Linked DNA regions of Homo sapiens: region 2 is linked to region 1. Evidence: promoter capture Hi-C in human tissues and cell types (Jung and others, 2019). All regions are on one chromosome and are shown on one strand. The core of a region is centred on a gene start or on the middle of the fragment in contact, and the rest is flanking DNA. Distances in the headings are between cores, read along the strand shown.

The links. The method cuts DNA at HindIII sites, captures the fragments that hold promoters and counts their contacts. A contact is called where the count stands out against the background at its distance.
Region 2: a contact is called between a fragment that was not itself captured here and the fragment with the promoter of RPL35A in region 1, in 1 of the 25 tissues and cell types used here (hippocampus).

Annotation. Positions count from the first base shown.
Region 1 is chr3:197,946,338-197,954,210 of GRCh38, reverse strand. RPL35A (ribosomal protein L35a) reads right to left here and starts at 4,021. Exons shown (of 5, transcript NM_000996.4): 1 at 3,990-4,021; 2 at 3,233-3,275; 3 at 2,900-3,052; 4 at 64-208. The coding sequence starts at 3,243. The region is part of intron 2 of DRC9 (dynein regulatory complex subunit 9); the gene reads left to right. RefSeq lists enhancers at 1,972-2,753, 3,537-4,319, 4,399-4,618. The HindIII fragment of the contact is 11,846 bases long and covers 1-7,521 here.
Region 2 is chr3:197,291,914-197,299,786 of GRCh38, reverse strand. DLG1 (discs large MAGUK scaffold protein 1) reads left to right here and starts at 1,175. Exons shown (of 25, transcript NM_001366207.1): 1 at 1,175-1,251; 2 at 2,552-2,601; 3 at 3,310-3,441. The coding sequence starts at 2,583. It overlaps MIR4797 (microRNA 4797), which reads left to right and starts at 5,839; the gene lies at 5,839-5,909. DLG1-AS1 (DLG1 antisense RNA 1) reads right to left here and starts at 1,540. Exons shown (of 3, transcript NR_038289.1): 1 at 1,177-1,540; 2 at 695-809. RefSeq lists silencers at 999-1,128, 1,619-2,248. The HindIII fragment of the contact is 6,857 bases long and covers 1,491-7,873 here.

The sequences.
Region 1 (7,873 bases), core at 2,772-5,271:
AGCACAACACCTTGAACCTAGTCTGATTCATCAGACGTCCATTTTGCTAAAAACCATACTCACCACTCGGATTCTGTGTCCAATGGCCTTAGCAGGAAGATTGCTTCGGAATTTGGCACGAACCATGCCACTGTTTCCATGGGCCCGAGTTACTTTTCCCCAGATGACTCTGGTTTTGTTTGGTTTGCCGCCAGGAGTGACTGTGTTGCTGATTTTAAAAAGGGAAAGAAGAGGAATACAAGCTGATATAGTTGGATACAAATTCAAGGTGACCTCTACACGAGTGGCTCTCAACCCTGGTTACCCACTTCATCACCTGAGAAACTTTAAATGCCTAGAACACCATTCATTCAACAGATACTTATCGAGTAACTATTGTATGCCAGGCCCTTCTGTAAAATACAGCAGCTATAAAACAAAAATCTTTCACATGATAACCAAGTAAGTTTAAGGAAAATACATAGGTCAGATGATAACAGAGGCAATATTGAAAAAATAGCAAAAAAGGACAAGTGTGAGGATATTTGTGTGTACAGAAAGGAGGAATTACCTGCCATTTTAAATAGCCAAGGAAGGTCTCACTGAGGTGACCATGGAACAAAGACTGGAAAGGGAGGGGAAATGCCATGAAGTGATCACGGGATGACTAGCGCAGGCACTGGGGCCAAGGAGTGTGTGTCCTGGCCGGAAGAAAGACTGAAGACACCAAGGGGTTAATCCCAGCTGAGATAAAGAGAATTATGGAGCTCTTAATGACGGGCTTTTACTGAATGAGAGAAACTACTGTGGTTCGAGCAATGTACAAAGGATATGACTTTATATATATTTCCTTTAAAGACCACGGGGTTGTCTTGTCACCCAGGCTGCAGTACAGTGGCCCAATCATAGCTCACTGCAGCCTCTATCTCCTGGCATCAAGCAATCCTCCCACCTAGGGCTCTCAAATGCTGGGGCTACAAGTGTGAGCCACTGCACCTGACTTAAAATTTTAAAGGAACACATTGGCTGTAGAAGAAAAGGTGGGGCAATGATTAAAACACTTTCCCAGAGATTTTAATTGGCTTGGAGTGGGTGAAGACAATAGGATTTGCTCTTGTTGTCCAGGCTAAGGTGCAATGGCACGATGGCTCACGCCTGTAATCCCAGCACTTTGGGAGGCTGGGGCGGGTGGATCACGAGGTCAGGAGTTCGAGACCAGCCTGGCCAACATGGTGAAACCCTGTCTCTACTAAAAATACAAAAGTTAGCCGGGTGTGGTGGTGCGCGCCTGTAATCCCAGCTACTGGGGAAGCTGAGGTTGCAGTGAGCTGAGATCACACCACTGCACTCCAGCCTGGGCAACAGAGCAACACTTTGTCTCAAAAAAAAAAAAAAGTCTACAGCATAAACATCTTTAGGCATGCATAAAAACTAATTTTGGCCTGGTGCAGTGACTTGCGCTATAATCCCAGCACTCTGGGAGGCCGAGGCAGGTGGATTACTTGAGGTCAGGAGTTCAAGACCAGAGTGACCAACACTGTGAAACCCCGTTTCTACTAAAAACATAAAATTAGCTGGGTGTGGTGGCACACGCCTGTAATCCCACCTCACTCGGAGGCTGAGGCAGGATAATCGCTTGAACCCGGGAAGCAGAGATTACAGTGAGCTGAGATTGTGCCATTGCACTTTAGCCTGGATAACAAGAGCAAAACTCTGTCTCAAAAAAGAAAGAAAAAAAGAAAAGAAAGAAAAGAAAAAACAAGGGGCGGGGCACCGTGGCTCCTGCCTGTAATCCCAGCACTTTGGGAGGCTGAGGTGGGTGGATCACAAGTTCAGGAGTTTAAGACCAGCCTGGCCAAAATGGTGAAACCCCATCTCTACTAAATATACAAAAATTAGACAGGCATGGTGGCGGCCGCCTGTAATCCCAGCTACTCAGGAGGCTAAGGCAGGAGAATCCCTTGAACCCGGGAGGCGGAGGTTGCGGTGAGCCGATATTGTGCTACTGCACTCCAGCCTAGGTGACAGTGAGACTCCGTCTCCAAAAAAAAAAAAAAAAAAAAAAAAAACCCATAATTTTAAGGCATTAACAAAATGCATTAAGCACAAGTGTTCTAAAAATCCTTAAATTCTGGCAAAAGGAGCCGAGAAAAAAAATTAGAAACCTTAAAAGGATCACAATATAAGGAATTACCTCCTTTATTGCTTACAAGTGCAAAAGGTACCTAAATCCAACACCACCCTCAGAAGTAACGTCCTTCTAAAACTCCCCATTAAGTTCCTTAATGACGCAAAATAGAAGCCACAGCAATACCAATCCAGCCTGGCCAACATGGGGAAACCCATTCTCTAGTAAAAATACAAAAATTAGCCGGGCGTGGTGGCACACCCCTGTAAGCCCAGCTACTCAGGAGGCTGAGGCAGGAGAATCGCTTGAGCCAGGAGGCAGAGGCTGCAGCGAGCCAAGATCGCGCTACTGCCCTCCAACCTGGGCAACAGAGACTCTTGTCACAAAAACAAAAAAACAATACCAAGTACTTCAGCTAAATCTTTTGTTTATTATTTCAATAGGATAATGAGGCCAGGCGCGGTGGCTCAAGCCTGTAATCTCAGCACTTTGGGAGGCCGAGGTGGGCGGATCACCTAAGGTCAGGAGTTTGGGACCAGCCTGGCCAACATGGCAATACCCTGTCTCTACTAATAATACAAAAACTAGCCGGGCGTGGTGGCCGGCGCCTGTAATCCCAGCTACTCGGGAGGCTGAGACAGGACACTTGCTTGAACCCGGGAGGCGGAGGTTTCGGTGAGGGAGACCAAGTCACTGCATTCCAGCCTCGGCAACAGAGCAAGACTCCGTTATATAAAAAAGAAAATGAGGCAGATCTCAAAAACCCAAAACCTACCAGTGTCATAAACTTACTTCTTTGCTTTATATACATAAGCGCATCTCTTGCCCAAATAGAATTCTGTTTCATCTCGGGCGTAAACACCTTCAATTTTAAGAAGAGCTGTGTGCTCCCTTTGGTTCCGGAGACCCCGCTTATAGCCAGCAAAAATGGCCTTGGACCACAGCCTAAGACACAAAAGATACACAACATGAAACATAAGCTTCAAAAAACCAATCTGACTTGTAATCACCCCCACCCAAAAGTTACTCAGAGCAAACATCTAAGTTTTTTCTTGCCAATTTTAAGCTCGCATTTACGTTCACGTCTAACACACAAAAATAAAGAACTATATTTAAAACGCGTACCTTCCAGACATAGTTCCTTTTAGAAGTCCCGTTCCCAGCAGGCCTTAAAACAAACAAAAAGATTAGTTTAAAACCAAGCCACACAAGTTTCCCACCTCGTCCCCTCTCGTTTAAGCCCCTAAAGCAAATTCCTTTTGGATGGGAGTTTCATGTAGGAGTTCGGGGACAACAATGCCAGAACATCCATATGAAACGCAGGGTCCGGCAAGACATTCAAACCTCAGAGAACAGCTGGTATCTAAGCAAACTTCAGAATGAAGACAAAACTAAGGGACAGGAGTCACAAAAATGACTCTCAGAAAAGCCTGAGAAAATGCATGCCGTTATCAGTAGGCAACACTCAGGAAAAGAAATGAAGCCTTAAAGAGAAACACACACGTAAGACTTTTATGCAATGGCTGGGGGAGAAAAGCTGAGGAAAGAGACTGGTCAGACAAGCCAAGGAAGGTATGGACTGGGAGGAAACGGATGAAGGAAGCACTGCCTCATGGACAACTGCACACGAACAAAAACATCGTTTCACTCCGTTCAGGCCCAGGAATTTAACTGGGATAACCCGGGCAGCCGTTCTCCGGGTGTCAGGGGACCAAACACCATCAGCCCAACATCTCCTCCATCCTGTTCTCCCTCTTCTTGAAACCCGTAGAAATCAATGGCTGGCAGAGACTCCGATACGCACCGGCGACTCGCCAAGGCACAGGAACAAACCTACTCCGGTTATTTGCCCCCAAATTTCAGCAGCAGACCCTTCACTCACCTCCACAGGAGCCAAGATGGCGGTAAGAGAAGGACGAGGCCCCGCCGCGTGGCCTTGTGGGATTAAACATCTTTCGACTCCGCCCTCAATTTAGGCATCTTCTCCAAACGCCAGAAAAACAATCCTCGGAAATCGGCTTCGCACTGAAATAAGCCACATTCAATAGCACTCTTACAATTATTTTCCTAAGTCCTTTCATCTTGGTAGGCTGCAAAATGTACTACTTGGGAACAAGGGAAGGCAAAATGGTAGCCAGCTAAATCCGCCAAAGCTGTGCGTTGCCATAGAAACAACTTAGTTTACTTCCTGCGTCCCCGGACGCCGTAGGTGGAAAGGCGAACCCTGAGTGGAGGATGTTCCCGCTGCCTAAAGAATGATTGACTGTAAGATTGATTTGCCAACAGTGGGGTGCTTTTCTCTCGATACACACAGCAATAGACAGAACGGAAATTCTGGGATCCTAATCTAGCATGGAAGAGAAAGGCCGGGAGCACGAAGGCAGCAGGACCTCTTCCTTCTCTTTTTTCTTTTTCTATACTTCTTTTCTCCCCTCTACTTATTTATCTCTTTCAAGAAATGAGACTGGGCACAGTGGCTCACGCCTGTAAACCCAGCTCTTTGGGAAGCCGAGGCGGGAGGATCGCTTGAGGCCAGGAGTTCGAGACCAGCCTGGGCAACATAGTGAGACCACCTCCCCCAACCTCTACAAAAGAAAAAAAAAATGAATGAAATGACTTAAGTTCTTACCTCCATTCTTCTTTTTGGATCCGAGGTATGAGGAGGACTGCCTGCAGGAGGCTTTATCGCCCTTTTAGGAGAACTCGTTTAGCTGCCTCGTGTCCGCACCTAGTAGGTCCTCCGTAGATACTTGTAGAGGTGGATTAGTGGACGCCAGAGATTCACATTTCCGAATTATTGCATATTTATTTGGGTTATCCTATGGATTCATTCATTTATTTAACACATAGTTTAATGAATGACTACCCTGTACCAAGGTTTGTGTAAGATGACACGGCAGTAAACAAATCTATGCCCTCGTGGAGCTTATATCCTACGAGGCGGAGCAACACAATGAGCAAGTAAAAATAGATGACACGTTAGAAGATGATAATTTCTGTGAAGAAAATTAAGCAGAGAGGCCACTGTAAAAGAGGCTTTCCCCACTTTGAGATGGGAAGTATGTAAAAGAGGCTTCCCCTGCTTTGAGATGGGAACTATTTAAGGGTCCTGAACAGAAGGGTGACTCTATCTGACTTCTATATTGACAAAGTCACTGTGTTGAAAGTGAAGGGAGGCAAGGGTATCAGCAGGAAGATAATTATAGGTTCCTGTAGTGACTATGATGAGAGGTGATGGTGTGTAAACAGAGGATATTGAGTACTGGAATTCTGAATATATTTAAATTCTGGCAAGATTTGCTGGTGGATGAGGAATGAGAGAGAGTAAAGTATGACTCCGAAGTTGTATGAAATAGATGTATATAAGTCACTTTTAAAATCAGATCCTCTCTTAAATACAACAGGATAGAACTTGTACCTTGTAGCCTACTACCCCACCCAGTGTTCCCTGTCCCAGAAAGAAATGTGCTAGAAATTTCACTATTAGATATTGATTTGTCAAAGTTCTATATGGAAGTCCTCCTGGGAGGAATAACACATTAAGTGTGAGTTTCATTCGTTTGCTCGTGTATTATTCGTTCCACAAATACTTATTGAGCACTGAGACTTAGCACCTGATACAACTGTGAGCATCGTTGTCATGTTGCTGCTTTCATGGAACAGTTGTCTAGTGGGGGGAAACTGACACTAACGTAACAAATTGTGAACACAGCTCTGCGGGAAAGTAGTGGCATGAGTGCCCAGAAGCCTGATCTGGCCTGACGAGTCAGCGAAAGGATCACTTGGACAAGTGTCAGTTAAGGCATTTTTCAAACTGCAGGTGATGACCATTAGTAGAGCATGATAAGAATACTTTTTAAAACAAAGTATGGGCCGGGCGCAGTGGCTCACGCCTGTCATCCCAGCACTTTGGGAGGCTGAGGTGGGTGGATCACTTGAGGTCAGGAGTTTGAGACCAGCCTGGCCAACATAGTGAAACCCTGTCTCTACTAAAAATACAAAAATCAGCCAGGGGTGTTGGTGTGTGCCTGTCATCCCAGCTACTTGGGAGGCTGAGGTACAAGAATCGCTTCAACCTGGTAGGGGGAGGTTTCAGTGAGCTGAGATCCTGCCACTGCACTCCAGCCTTGGTGACAGAGTGAGACCGTCTCAAAAAAAAAAAAAAAAAAAAAAAAGGTAAAGCAGGAGTGAAACTACAAGGGATGATGGAGTCTCCCGGGACCTAGGAAAGAAATAGTTACCTAAGCCCAGAGAGAGACGTTTGGAGAGAATTGCCTGACAGGAGCCATGACCTTTGATAGAGGAACATAACCAACCAATTATATTCTGGCAGAGAAGGAGCAGGGAGAATAAATGTCTGATCTCACTTCTCTACACTGAATCTCTTTCTGGAATCTCCCCTGGATATACTCCATACGGGTCCATCTCTCAGAGCACAGAAAATGTTAGAGATTTCACCTAGAAAAATGACACTGTCTTAAGCTGGTGATGGGTCAGTGGGACTTTACACGGTGAAAAGGTGAGGGAAGAGTGGCTCCACTGGAAGGAATAGCAGGTGCAAAGACCCTGAGTTGCAAGGGAGCATGAGTCCAGAGAAGAACTGAAAGAAGCCCACTGTGGCTGGAGCCCAGAGAGCAAGGAAAGTGCAGTTGTAGTTGGGTCTAGAGAGGAACAGAGGGGCCCAGATCATACAGACCTTGTGGACCAAGTCAAGAATTTTCTTCTTTGTCCTAAGGCAACGGGAAACCATTGAAGGGTTCTAGGGAAGGACATGATGAGATTTTCCATTTTAAAAGATCACCCTTTCATTTTAAAAAGCTCACTTCCTGAACCTTCTGTCAGGATATCAGAAAAAAAAAATTTAAAAATTAAAAGATCACTTCCAATTTAGAGGTTGTTGGAGTAGTTCAAGCAAAAAAGAAAACAAGGAAACAAACAAACACAGCAACAACTAGGTCCAGCTTAGGAGATATGGAAATAGAAAGTAAAATCCGCCTGGGCGCCTTGGCTCACGCCTGTAATCTCAACACTTTGGGAGACTGAGGCAGGTGGATCACCTGAGGTCAAGAGTTCGAGACCAGCCTGGCCAACATGGTGAAACCCCGTCTCTACTAAAAATACAAAATGGTGGTGTGAGCCTGTAATCCCAGTTACTCGGGAGGCTGAGGCAGGGAAATCACTTGAACCTGGGAGGCAGAGGTTGCAGTGAGCCAAGATCGCGCCATCGTACTGCAGCCTAGGCAAGAAGAGAAAAACTCCATCTCAAAAAAAAAGAAAAGAAAAAAAGAAAGGTATTCTGCTTAATACCATGCTACTTCCTCCTAAAACTGCCCCTGCATCAGGACATTTGGCTAGTCTGAAGTACTTTTTCAAATTTATGTGAAGATTCTGTTTTGTGTGTTTGAATTTTTGCATGTAAGATTTTTGTTGCAAGAGTCATATTTGCACCACGTCTCTCAGAGTTGCTTTATTGTGGACAAATTTACATTGGAAACTCACCACTCACTGTCCATTCAGTACAACGCAAACTTCTCCATAGGGGTTTTCACTGTAAAGCTCATTTAAGCAGAAAGGATTTTGGTTTACTGAGGAGGGGTAACATCTTGATAGCAATGTTAAACTGATTTCCAGGATTAATACAGTTTTCCTTTTTTTTTTTTTTTTTTTTTGAGACGGAGTCTCGCTCTGTCGCCCAGGCTGGAGTGCAGTGGCGCGATCTCGGCTCACTGCAAGCTCTGCCTCCCAGGTTCACGCCATTCTCCTGCC
Region 2 (7,873 bases), core at 3,670-6,169, 660 kb after region 1:
ACCGTTTGACCCTTCTATCCCATTTTCTCTATGCAATGTTGCTTTAACTGTTGTTCAAGATCCCAGGATGCTTGATCCGGGAAAGCACAGAGGTCTGCTGCCAACATACCAACATACCTCTCTGTCAAGTTGTCCAAAATCACAAGAGAAAGAGCCCTGGACTAGAGCTAGGAGACCTGAGTTCTCGGCTGCTCTGTTACTGATTAGCGTCTATGTCCTTGGACAAGTTGCTTCCCTTTTTCCGGACCTCGGTTCCTTGTCCTAGATAGGTTCTAAAGTCGGTGGGTCCTTACAGTAAGTTAGGATTCTAAGGTGCAATCCAAAAGTAAAACCAGTGGTCAGTATACCTCTGAGTAGCTGTTAAGGTTACAATACGAGGTTCCTCGGCCTTCCCTTTGGTAGCCAATGGATACGGCCTCAGTCAGAGGCCGTCAGGTTTACTGGGAAGAGCCTTCCGGTTTTGAAAGACAGGATCTCCGGGTTTCCAGTTCTGTCACTCACTCGGGGTAACTTTGGGCAAATTCTCTCTGGACCTCCTAATAGGGAGGTCCTCGTCACCCCGAGGAAGTTCGAAGACGTGGGCAGTGACTTGGAAAGCTTCCCGAGATTCCCCTTCTATAACCTGGGTGGCTCAGACCGGGAGCGGGGTCCCAGCCGGCCGGTAATTCCGCCCGGAGGTGCGCACGAAACAAACCTGCAGCGCTGGCCGAGGGCGGCTCAGCTTCGGAGGGCGCGACTCCGGGTGAGTTCTTAAAGGGACCGTCAGAGTTTGGGTAACACCTGCGATGCTGACCGGGCGGGGACGCAGGCTTGAGGGAAATGAATGAATGAATGAATGAGCGAATGAATGAACAAACCTTCTCTGCCCACCCTTAAGTATACCATACTCGGAATTAATCAGTTAGGCTTAAAAATCTTGTACTATAACCCTCAAACTCTTGCCAAGTTAACCAGTGTCTCTATTTCATATGTCCTTCTGTAATGAAACCCCTCCCCCCAAGCCTATTACTAAGGGACGAAGAGTAACTTAACAATCAGCCTGGAGTGGAAGGCAATGCAGAGTTGGCACCCCTCCCCGAACTCCTCCCTCTCCCTCTCCCAGGCCCCGCCCTCCCCGCCCCCTGGGAGGTGCAGTTGGCTCCTCCTTAAGGCGGCTTTTCCCCGGTGGGGATCTACCCCCGGGGTCGCCAGGCGCTGTCTCTGCCGCGGAGTTGGAAACGGCACTGCTGAGTGAGGTTGAGGGGTGTCTCGGTATGTGCGCCTTGGATCTGGTGTAGGCGAGGTCACGCCTCTCTTCAGACAGCCCGAGCCTTCCCGGCCTGGCGCGTTTAGTTCGGAACTGCGGGACGCGCCGGTGGGCTAGGGCAAGGTAAAGGCGGGCTCCTCCAGGGCCACCCCGGGCCACCTGTGGAGTCCGAGTGTTAACTCCTTTGTTCTCAGAGCCACTTCAGCGGCCGCCCTTTTAAGCGAAGAGGTTCCCTTAGGATGCTCCCCGGGTACCCCTTCCGTTCCCCTGCCCTCCCCCGACCCGCCTCCCCCTTCCAACCCGAAGGTAGCAGCGCGGGGAGCCCGGGGCTCGGCGCGAGCCGCCTCCTCACTTCCCATTGGCTGAGAGCGCCGGGAAAGCGGTCACGTGGGAGCGCGGCAGGCCAGCTCGGGGGCCGCCATCTTGGCGGAAAGTTTCGGGGGAGAGCGGTTGGGGGCGCGGAAGGAGGCGAGGTTCCGGGGGTGGGGCGTGCGGCAGCAACTGGGCGAGCGGGCCGGGGGGCCGCGGCGAGCGAGGAGGCGGCGCGGCCGAGAAGGAGGACGAGGCCGCGGGGGTGCGGCGGCCCAGGGGAGCTCCTCCCCCGTCCCTTCGCCCCCTCCGCTCGGCTCCGCGGGCCCCGGGCGGGGCGGGGGTACGTGGAGCGGGGCCGGGCTGGGGAGCTGCTCCGAGTCTGGCCGGGGCGCACCCCAGTTCCGAGCGCACGCCGCTCACCGGAACTTTGTGGCGGCGCCGCAGGTGTGGGGGCCCGCGGAGGTGTGCATGCGGGGCGCGAGGGCGTCGCGGAGAGCGGCCGCTGCCCTGTCCGGCCCCCGCTGGAGCAGCCCGGAGGCAGCGAGCAAGGAGAAAGGCAAGCGAGAGGAGGGGGCCCGAGCAGGGCGGGCGGCCAGTCCCGCTGGTCCCCTCTCAGCGCTCTGCGGCCGCTGCTGGCTCAGGGGCCAAGGGTCGGAGCGCTTCACCCGCCCGTACCCAGTAGCAGGTGGGGAGTGTGGATACTTGTGCGGGGGAAGAGGCGGCCTCAGGTCTAGGCTCTTTGGGGAGGGGACGCTTTCGAGGAGAGTTTGGAAGCCGACTTCTGTCTGTTCTTAATTTGGAGGGGTACCCACTCCAAGGAAAAGCTTTCCACGTTGACAGACAACTGCTGCGTTTTGAGACTCTTTCTTTGACTTGGTAAAACTTTGGAACGTGGGGTTTTCAAATAGGCTGCGAGGGTTTTCTATTTCGATAGGGGAAAATGCTAGTTTAACATGATTCTATCCTTTTTCCTTTCCGTTGTGTGTTTTAAAGGTGTGTGCCCTCTTCCTGATTCTGGAGAAAAATGCCGGTCCGGAAGCAAGGTGAGAGTTTATTCCGTAACTCTGTTGTCGATGTCACTTGCTTTTCCGTGTGTCAGTTTTTTGATTGCCGTTTTAGAATCGTTTGTGTAACTTTGATGAGACAGCACGGTCCTAGCTTTATTGCTTAGGGAATCTAAGCCTCATATCATTTCAGAAGATGGAAACACGAAAATGTTTGTTAAACTTTCTTAACATTTCTCTAGTGATTAAGAGAGGCAGTTAGCCCCCCCCCAACAGATGTCCTTAATAACCCTGAATTGGTGTTTTAGTATTTCACTCTATCATTCTTACTAAGCACTATTCTGTAAGCAACTGTGGGATACTAAGAATTTGTATTTTGAAATGTTAAAAATTTGGATTATGATGACAAATTGTAGATAATCTGCTTTTGCATTATCAGGTAATCTGAAACTGTTGCTAATACTTTGATCTTTTACTTTGGCAAACTACCAGTACACATTTATTCCAAACTGCTCACTCTCCTCCGTTTTCTAATGTGATATATGTTTAAATTTTTCTTGTATTTCTTTAATTTTTTTTTTTATTTTTTGGTCATTCTAAGGAATATGTGTACATGAACATAGTGACATCAATTGACCTGAAGGATTTGCGGAACTATTTAGATGTCATGCAGAATTATTTGCACTAGTATGTGATACTTTTTTTGTAAATAGAGAGTTTTAATCAGGCTCTGCTTTTTCTTCTCAGATACCCAGAGAGCATTGCACCTTTTGGAGGAATATCGTTCAAAACTAAGCCAAACTGAAGACAGACAGCTCAGAAGTTCCATAGAACGGGTTATTAACATATTTCAGAGCAACCTCTTTCAGGCTTTAATAGGTGGGAATTAAAACTTCGTAACTATTATGCCAGCTAGGCTTTATGCTCCTCTCAATTCATTTATTTTAAACTTAAGAAAATGATGTACTTAATTCTCTGAGGCATTCGGTAACTTGAACATCTTCAGTGAGTTGTGTGTTTTTCATAGGCCAGTGTCCTTTCTTAAAATAACTAGTAACCAAAAAACTTTCAGGATTATTTCAGTGGCTTTTGAGAACATTGTTTCACATCTTAATAGCATTAACTATTAAAAGATGTTGCACAGATGTTTAAGGACCTAAAAGGTATGACTGAGTTACTGTGAGCTTGTTTCTGTATTTGACTGGCATGTCTCTGAAGTCATTGAAAGCGTGTGAAGGGTTCTGCTGTGTTGAAGAACATTCATTCCCTTAATGTAGATTTCTGTTTGAGCTTGGCATTCATGGAGTCAGAATTTTAGACCTGGAAAATAATCTTAGAGATGATCTTGTCTAGTAACCGTATTTTACAGGCAAGAAAATGGAAAGTTTTATTCTTAATTGTAACTTAATTTGAAGTGGTGCATTGTTTGAAAGAACTGGAAAAATAAGAGTCCTGAGTTCTTTTGCCACTAATTGAATGATATATCCCAAGTCATTTAATCTTTTCTATGCCACCATATTAGCTGTAGAATGTAGCTGTTGAAATGACAGAATGGGTTTAAAGCCTTTTTTAAGTAGATAAATCATTTTTAAAAGCATCATCTCATATTTTGTGTATAATCTCCTATGTATAAAACAAGGTGACTTGTCTGGCTCTTTTGTCCAGGTACCTCAAAAAGTTTGCAAACCACCGAACTAGAAAGTTTGTCTCTTCCAATTCTAAGAATGAAGTTTTTTTTTTTTGTTTTAGTTATCAACTATATAACATTTTAACATAAGAAGACATATACTTAATTATATTACATTTATTTCTTCAGTAACTTCCAGTCAGATATGGCCTTACATCTATCTGTTGATAGAATAATTGTTGGTGTGATTTGAAGACTACTTTCAAGTCAGTGTGTCCTGTCAGGTACATTATTGATAAATGGATGCTCTCTACGGTTTTAGAATGAAAGATTTTTGTAAAGACCACTTGATGCACCTGAACAATTTTGAAAAATGTAACATTTTAATAGACTTTTAAAAACATAAGGATACATAGCACAGTGTAATGAACTGCCTTTTAACTGTTACCCAGCTCCAGAAATTCACATTTTGCCATTTTTGTTTACATTGATGGACATTTTTTACACATTTGAATTTCTGAGGTTTAAGGTCCGAATGGATGATCAAATTGGATTCCTCTGGAAAAACAGCAAAAAGCATTTTTTAGTTATTTGTTTTCTAAATCAACATTGAGCCTAGTAATTTGGTGCAGTTACTGTTGCAAAAAAAGTATGTTTTTTCGCAACAGTATAGAGATATATATATACATATATGTATAGATAGGCAGATAGATAGACTGCAGACTTTTCTTTGTGTGATGGCTGTAACTTAAGAAAATTAAATCGTTAGTGAAATAACAGAATCTACATTTATATTTCTGTCTAGATTGGGGATGGGTTTGCTGTGTTCAGAGACATTTTTGACCTATTCTGCCTTGCCTGTTTTGAATGTGTCTATTCTTACGTACAATTGAACTTTGATAGAGTTAGCTTTCTTCTCTTTTTTTTTTTTTTTTTTTTTGAGGCAGAGTCTCACTCTGTCACCCAGGCTGGAGTGCAGTGGCGAGATCTCCGCTCACTGCAAGCTCCGCCTGCCAGGTTCACGCCATTCTCCTGCCTCAGCCTCCTGAGTAGCTGGGACCAAAGGTGCCCACCACCACGTCCGGCTAATTTTTTATTTTTTGTATTGTATTTTTAGTAAAGACGGGGTTTCACTGTGTAAGCCAGGATGGTCTCGATCTCCTGACCTCGTGATCCACCCACCTCGGCCTCCCAAAATGTTGGGATTACAGGCGTGAGCCACCGCGTCTGGCCTAGAGTTAGCTTCCTAATTACTAAGTTTATATTTGTGAATCTTCTAATTTCATTGGTTGTGAATTTACTTTGACATTTAAATTTACTTATATTTAATGTTCTATAGGATGTGGTACTATATCACATTTTGGTGTAAGACAAGTAATAGATTTTAGGAGTTTTGAAATAGATAACGTTTAATAGAGGTTCTGTGTGTTTCCATGCTATAATTGTTGATACTACGGAATAAATACATTCTCTTGTGTTTCCTGAATAACTTTTAATACTTAGTCTGAAAATGTTTAGTCTGATAAGATTTTCTTTGTATTTTGCAACTCTACCATTGTTTTGAAACAGTGTCATAAATGTACTTTAAGCTTGTAAACTGCCCTAAGCTAAACCAGTTCATTGTGTCCATAGTGTTTGCAGAAAAATCCGACTCAGAAGACAGAGTGCCACTTACTGAAAGGTTTTTTCTCTCAGTAAGTGGCACTCTGTCTTCTGAGTTGGTACCTGTGGACCACTGGATTAAAGGAGAACAGGGGTCTTGGCCACCTGAGCTGTTTGGAGTCATTGAGTGCTTAGATTTTTCACTTCCTTAATTTGGAAATCACTTGTTTAGGCCGCAGTGAGTTATCTAGTTATCTGTTTGGGGTGCCAAGTGTCTTTGGATTTTCAGTCTGCATTGATCATTTATTGATTGATTCTTTGAACTGGTAGTTTATATTGACTTTTCATGCATTTAAAAAAGTTTGAGTCTCTAGGGGTTTGGTGTCCCCCCCTGTAGTTGATACATAGATTAGGTTCCTGTACTTTTGGATTATTCAGAGGGACAAGCATGTACGTACTGTATTATATTTGTTCTAAAATACCAACTGTTAAATATTTCAATATCTGGTATATGTCATTTTTAATTGACAGTGTTTCTGTGTTCTGACACATGAAATAGTGCATTTTATAATTGATACTCGCAATGTAATATAGAAATCATTGGTCTAGTGCTGATAGATACTTGGTAGTATCTTTGAAGGATGGCTTAAAGATTTAAAAATTATTGAAAGCAGAAAAGTTTTTACTAATTTTGAATTTCAGCTGATGTATTGTTTCTTTAGAGCTAAATATTTAAAGTTGTATCTTAACAAAAGTCCATGAACTGCACATTTGTTTAAAATTTACTCCCAAAACATACCTGGTGATTATTTTTGTATAAAGGAAGATAAAGTCTGCTTAATTTCACTCTGTGATTTAGGTGAGAGCAATTTGAAAACTTGCTTTTGTATTCCAGTTTTTTGTGCTTAAGTTTGAAAATTTTTTGAGTAGACGGGATATGGTTTGATTATAATCAGAGCCCAGGTATTCAGGTCCATAGTGGTTTCAGTTCATTCATGATTCTAAGGTGTGTGGGATCTGAGATGACACTGCTAGTCCATAGAGACTTCATACCAGTCTAAACCCCTGCAGTTATTTCTTACGGGATCAGAGAACTCATCTGCTTTCCTTGTGCATGAGAAAAACTGGGGCCCAAGATTAGGCTGGCTTTAGAGACTTGAGTAAGTTGAGTCATGTGATTTGTATATTTTGTCTGCAATAAATAAGCTTATTCTAATGCAGTGTTTTATTTCTGCAGAGATTTCAGAATGAAAGTGGATTATGTAATAATACTGTCCATTTATGAGTTTAGTTACCAGTTCATTTGTTGCCACTCTATTAAAATCTAATAGTTTCACTAGCCCTTATAAAAGGACATTACCCTATCTTTATTTGTAGATACTAGTTTCAAAAGTATGACCCCTTTGCCATCTTCACCATCTTTAAATGTACAGTTCAGGAGTGTGAAATGTATTCATATTGTTGTGAAACAAATCTTCAGAACACTTTCGTCTTGCAAAACTGAAATCCTATACCGAATAAACAACTGCTCCCCTTTCCTCTCACTTCCCAGCCCCTTGTGACCAACGTGCTGCTTTCTGTTTCAGTGAATTTGATCATGTTAGAAACCTCATAGAAGTATTTGTCTTTTTGCGACTGGCTTATTTCACTCAGTGTAGAGTCCGCAAGGTTCATTCATGTTGTAGTTGTTGACAGGATTTTCTTCCTTTTTCAGGCTGAATAATATTCCGTTGTATGTATATACCGCATTTTATCTAGCCATCCATTGATGGACAGTTGGGTTGCTTCCTCCTCCTGGCTGTTGTGAATAATGCTGTTAGGAATGTGAGTGTGCAAATATTTCTTCAAGACCCTGCTTTCAGTTCTTTTGGATATTTACCCAGAAATAGGATTGTGGGATCATACGGCAGTTACATTTTTAATTTTTTGAGGGCCCACCATAATGTTTTCCATAGTGATTGCAGCATTTTACAGTCTCACCAGCAGCACACAGGATTTCCAGTTTCTCCACATCCTTGCCGATACTTAATTTTTTTCCTTTCTTTTTTTGATAATAGCCATCCTAATAAGTGTGAGTATATG